2 separate regions of the Homo sapiens genome follow, and region 2 is linked to region 1. Evidence: promoter capture Hi-C in 16 types of primary human blood cells and fetal thymus (Javierre and others, 2016). All regions are on one chromosome and are shown on one strand. Each heading gives the region's core, a stretch centred on a gene start or on the middle of the fragment in contact. The rest is flanking DNA. Distances are from core to core; before and after follow the strand shown.

Region 1 (2,951 bases), core at 133-2,632:
CATAATGCTGCTATGAACATGGTACAAATAGCTGTTTTCATTTCTTTGGGGTATATATCCAGAAGTGGAATTGCTGGATTATGTGGTAATTATGTTTAATTTTTTGAGGAACCACTCTACGGTTTTCCACAGCAGCCACACCATTTTACATTCCCGTCAGCGATGCACAAAGGGTTCCAATTTCTCCGCATCTTTGCCAACACTTATTTTCTTTTTTTCCTCTTCTTCCTCCTTCTCCCCCCTTGAAACTTTTTGTTTTCTTCTCGTTTTTGTAGAGAACAGGGTCTCCTTATGTTGTCCAGTCAAGTCTGCCAACTCCTGGGCTCAGGCTATCCTCCTGTTTCTGCCTCCCTAAGTGCTGGGATTTTAGGCTGAAGCCACTGCGCCCAACTCCCTGCTTCTTCAACTGCCATCCTAATGAATGTTAAGTGGTATCCCACAGTGGTTTTGATTTGCGTTTCCCTAGTGATTAACTATGGGAAGCAGAAGTGAATGAGACAGAATTGTGATCTTGTCAGAAAAATCGTCTTGGAAAAGCCAACGTCCAACAGAAATGGTTAGAACAGGGGTCGCTGGCTTCCATCCAGACAGTATCCCTGACCCTTGTTGGGGCAATGTCACAGAGGCTCCTGCTGAGCAGGGAGGTCTGGATTCCACACTCTTCTGCCACTGCCCAGCTCTGGACCTAAGCTTTCTATGGGTGTCAAGAGGACAAGCAGCCGTGCCCATTTGTCTCGCTGCTTGTTTTTTTGGGTGTCAGATGCGCCAGCAGGAGGGACAGTGTGCGGGAAGGTGCTGGTCTGAGGCTGGTCCTGCCAAAGCCCCGCAGGCTCACTCCCTGGTCGTGCGGAGGTGGCTGGTGCTCGCTGGTCTCCTCAGCACCCGCAGGCCGGGCCCGGGGGCCAGGCAGTTGTCCTCTGTGGAGCCTTATCGGGGCCCACAGGCCCTGCTGCCTTGACCCCACCCGGGCCCCAAAACTCGGCCTGGGGACTGCACAAGGCGGGGCTACGCGGGGCAGGGCCCGTCTGCTGGGGGAGTGCGCTGGGCGGCGGCGGGAGGGCAGGGTCCCTGGGCTCCGACAGCCCCTCCGGCGGAGGTCAATCACAATGAAACCGTGTCCAGCGGACCCGGCAGGGGCTCGCCGCAGTCTACCTGGCCACCGTGAAGCCATGACCTGGCGCCCGAAGCTGCCGGCCGGGGTGTACTCCGCGCGGGACCCTGGGCCTCCGCAGGCCCCGGCGGGGTCGCCCCGAGGCGGGCCTGGCGAGTCCAATCGCCCTGCCCGCAGGGGACCCGCCCCTCATGGGTCCCGCCAATCGCAGGGTACGTTGCTCGGCAGTGCTGCGCGGCTTGGCCTATGGGACGGCGCGTTGTTGGGCTGCAGCGCCGCAGGCCGCACCCAGGTCGGGCGGTGGGGGCGAGCGGAGGGGCTGAGGGGCGGAGAGGCCTGGCGGGCCGCTGCTGCGGGCCAGGGGACGGGGGCGGAGCCGGAGCCGGAGCCGACGGGCGGTGGCCGCACTGGGACCCCGGAATCCCGCGCGCTGCCCACGATTCGCTTCTGAGGTGAGGCTAGCTAGCGGGGGCGGCGGGGGCCCGGTTCGGGCTGAGGCGGCGGCGGGGGCGCGGGGAACTGGGCCGCGGTTGCGGCGGGCGGGGGCCGCGGGGCCTGCGGCGGCCCGGGCAGCCTCGGGGGCGGGGAGGCCGCTGCGGCGCCGAGGGCGTCTTGGAGGGGTCCCCGCGGGGCCTTCGGCCTGGGCCGAGCCGGGGAGCGAGGGCGCCGCAGATCTTTCATCGGGATAGGACCCCGGGGACTAGGCTTTTCCCGGGCCGCTCGTTCCTGGCCGGCTTGTGGGCTGCAGGGGTGGGGGCGGAGGAGGACGACCCTGGCTGGACGCTGGTCAGCATCCTGCTTGTGAGACCGGTTCCGCGGTCCGCAGCGCTGGTGGCTGCAAGGTTTGTGTACGGACGCATCTGTCGGCTCTCGTATTTAAAAACGACGGCTTCTGCCAAAAGAGAAAAGCCATATCTGCCGACGGACGCTCGAGAGATAATCGTGGAACTTTATCAGCGATGGGGCTGTTGGTCACCTTTGCCCTCCCTCTCTTTTCTTTTTTCTTAATCTTTTATTTTCGTTTTTTGGGAGATGTCAGAGGGCCTTTCCCTGTTAGGATGACTTTTATCTTTGCTCTTGTAATGGCTCAAGATAGTTGGGAGGTAATTTGCATTCACTTTATGCATACCCACCTTGAAAAACGTATTTTGGTTCGCCTGAAACTGTTGTTGGTTTGAGCATAATTTATGTTTAGAAAGACAAAAAGCAATTGTCATATCTCCAAAGACCAAAGACATAGCTGATAGCTGTATGCATTACTGGTAAGTTAAAGAAAGATTTTTTGTGTGAAAAATTGACTGAGATCTTAATGGGGATAGGAAATAGAATGCTGATAGGTCGACTGTGTCTATGAGTAGAGGCGCCTAGTGAAAACAAGCTTGGAGTGGATGAGTAGGAGTTCAACAGGCACCAGAGAGAGGAGGGCATTTCAGGCAGAGGGTGTGAATTGTATGAAAGTGAGTTTGTAAACTTTGGAGCCTTGAATGGACAAAGGCCCGCGATGATACCTTTTTTTTTTGAGACGGAGTCTCGCTCTGTCGCCAGGCTGGAGTACAGTGGCGCGATCTCCAGTCACTGCAATCTCCGCCTCCCAGGTTCAAGCAATTCTCCTACCTCAGCCTCCCGAGTAGCTGGGACTACAGGCGCGCGCCACCACGCCCAGCTAATTTTTGTATTTTTAGTAGAGACGGGGTTTCACCATGTTGGCCAGGATGGTCTCAGTCTCTTGACCTCGTGATCCGTCCGCCTAGGCCTCCAAAAGTGCTGGGATTACAGGCGTGAGCCACCGCGCCTGGCCTACGTTAAAATTTTAATATACTCCTTTGATTTTGACAGTGGA
Region 2 (2,951 bases), core at 219-2,718, 350 kb before region 1:
TAAAGTACATTGATTTCTTTATTATGGCTAGCAGATATTTAAGAATGTTAGTACAGGTCTTTGAATAAATTTTGCTTTTAAGAGAAGTTACTATTTATTTCTAATTAGATGGGGAGGAAAGTCTTTGAAGAGGAACCTCTACTTTACTTTTTACATAAGCAACCTGGTGGCTGCTGGGGAAACCCTTAAAACACTGGGCAGTAGAACTCCACTGAGGTTAGTGTCAGCTCCCTTGAGGCCAAGAGCAGCTGCTCACTTGGGAGTTTTGGCTGCTGTCGCTTGGCCTCTGGGCCCTCCTGGGGCTGGTTCTGTGCTCCTTAGTCCGTGGGAAGTTACTAGACCCAGCTTCATTTCCAAAACATCTCAAGCTGCCATTTGATAAGAGTAGCATTGGAACACAGAATCAGGCTTATCCCTGTTGCCTAGCGAGGGCTTGGCTGGATGGTGGGTGTTCCTGGATCTTGTATGAATCTCTCCTGCAATATCTGGTCCTTTCAGAGTTTCCTGGGACAGATTGACCCTAGTAAGGCTAAGGAATTGGGATAGTAGTAGCATCTTCCGTCTCTGCGCAGTACTTTACATACATGATCTCATTTAGACCTTATAACAGCTCTGCAAGGCTGGTACTGGTGAGGAACTTGAGACTTAGTAGTGCAGTACTTGTCCCAGGTTGTCCAGTGCAAAGGATAGCAGGACAGGGCACAGGGAGAAGAGCACGGAAACACCAGTGGGAATACAAGGTGACAGGCTCTGTTGGGAAGCTCTTTTTTTTTTGGGGGGGGGTGAGATGGAGATTTACTCTTGTTGCCCAGGCTGGAGTGCAATGGCACAATCTCGGCTCACCGCATCCTCCACCTCCCAGGTTCAAGTGATTCTCCTGCCTCAGCCTCCCGAGTAGCTGGGATTACAGGCATGTGCCACCACGCCCAGCTAATTTTGTATTTTTAGTAGAGACGGGTTTCACCGTGTTGCCCAGGCTGATCTTGAACTCCTGACCTCTGGTGATCCGCCTGCCTCTGCCTCCCAAAGTGCTGGGATTACAGGCCTGAGCCACTGCGCCTGGCCAGCTCTGTCTCTTGATTAAGGTGGAGGATATTCTCAGCTTGTCTTTTGGGACCAGGCAGACCAGAAATGCTGGAGCATATTGGCAAACCAGCAGCCTAAGGATTTGGAAGAAAGGCTGGTCAGAGTGTCAGTTGCTTATCAACCAGCTGAGAGCCTGAACTTTCCGGAAGACATGGCTCTTGGGTAGCCACTGGGAACAGGCTTAAAACAGCTTTGGTTCTTTGAGTTCTTTGTGGGGAGTGATTGTCTGGTGTGAATCACAGTTGATAGTGCCCTGAAAGGTTCAAGGCCACATTTCCCAGGGGAAGATAAGCTTTCCACAATGTATAGAAACTCAGAAAACTCCAAGTTCTTTATGCTAAGAAACAAAAAGGGCTCAGAAAGGCTGAACACAAAGTCAAGGAAGAGAAATTGATAACTTTTGGTTAAAGGGAAGAGTTTCCAGCCTTTTGGCCAGGGCATCCACTACCAAGTCCAAATCCTGACTTGGCCTCAAGCTTTTGTAAAGGGATGCATCGTGTCCCTTTTGACCTGCTGATAGTTTTTTTGAGATGGAGTCTCACACTGTCACCCGGGCTAGAGTACAGTGACGCGATCTCGCCTCACTGCAACCTCTGCCTCCCAGGTTCAAGTGATTCTCCTGCCTCAGCCTCTGGAGTAGCTGGGATTACAGGTGCCTGCCACCACGCCCAGCTAACTTTTGTATTTTCAGTAGTGATGAGGCTTCACCATGTTGGCCAGGCTGACCTTGAACTCCTCACCTCATGATTCGCCCACCTCAGCCTCCGAAAGTGCTGGGATTACAGGTGTGAGCCACCATGCCCAGCCGACCTGCTGATAGTTTGATAAAACAGAAGTTTTACTTTCTGGAATTTCTACTCATTTTATGTTTTGGATGGTTTCTCTCTCCGTAAGCATTCAGTATTCTTGAATCTCAAGTTTTGAAAGGAGCCCTAACTTCAAGTCTACTCGCTGGCTTCTTAATGAAGTGAACCATTTCTATTGCCCATTTAGTTCTTCCTGAAACCCTGACATTCTGGTGTTCATGTGACTCTTCTTTCCCCCTTGCTACTCAGAGAAAGCGTCGTGGTGGAGCAATAAATTCTAGACAAGCTCAGAAGCGAACTCGGGAAGCAACCTCCACCCCCGAGATCTCCTTGGAAGCAGAACCCATAGAACTCGTGGAAACTGGTAAGATTGCCAGGGACACTACAACTGTGGGGTGTTAAAGTGGAGAGAGAACACTGTACCAGGGTGAGCTAGTAGAAGGTGCTTTCAGTGTCTTTAGAAGGCCTATGCAGTCTCACACTCACCATGTACAACTCAAAGCTTCACAGATTCTGAAATAGCTTCTCAACTGGGCTAACTGTTCAACTCTGGTAATGTGCAGCAGTGGGGTAGGATCCATTTAAAAAAAAATCTAGCGCAAATGAGATAGCCCACCTTTTCTATCTGAAACTGCATCCCCAATTGCTGGACCTTGTAAAGTACTTCGCTTTCCTCTTCTGTTTTTCATTAGGACATGAAATCACCCAAGAAGGCAAACTTGTCCACAGAGCTCCCTGTGTTGGAGCTTGGTATAGGCAGAGGCCAGATTGGATTTCCCCTTCTGCCTGCTCAAGAAGTGGTTGATGGCTGGCCTAAGTCCCTTTGCTCTGCATATATTGTTTTTATAACTAGGATACCTGCAAACTGGCATTTTATTTTTACTTATTTATTTTTGAGATAGAGTCTTGCTCTGTCGCCCAAGCTAGAGTGTAGTGGTGCAGTCTCGGCTCACTGCAAGCTCCACATCCTGGGTTCACGCCATTCTCCTGCCTCAGCCTCCCAAGTAGCTGGGACTATAGGCACCCGCCACCACACCCGGCTAATTTTTTGTATTTTTA

What was found. The method cuts DNA at HindIII sites, captures the fragments that hold promoters and counts their contacts. A CHiCAGO score of 5 or more calls a contact.
Region 2: a contact is called between a fragment that was not itself captured here and the fragment with the promoter of ADD1 in region 1, in 1 of 17 cell types (total B cells). The highest score is 5.8, in total B cells.

Annotation. Positions count from the first base shown.
Region 1 is chr4:2,842,462-2,845,412 of GRCh38, forward strand. ADD1 (adducin 1) reads left to right here and starts at 1,383. Exons shown (of 16, transcript NM_001354761.2): 1 at 1,383-1,563. RefSeq lists an enhancer at 155-666 and silencers at 795-844, 945-1,324, 1,385-1,574, 1,695-1,844. The HindIII fragment of the contact is 1,799 bases long and covers 689-2,487 here.
Region 2 is chr4:2,494,866-2,497,816 of GRCh38, forward strand. It overlaps RNF4 (ring finger protein 4), which reads left to right. Exons shown (of 8, transcript NM_002938.5): 3 at 2,142-2,256. Among named protein-coding and RNA genes, the nearest start is that of RNF4, 27 kb to the left of the region's middle. The HindIII fragment of the contact is 184 bases long and covers 1,377-1,560 here.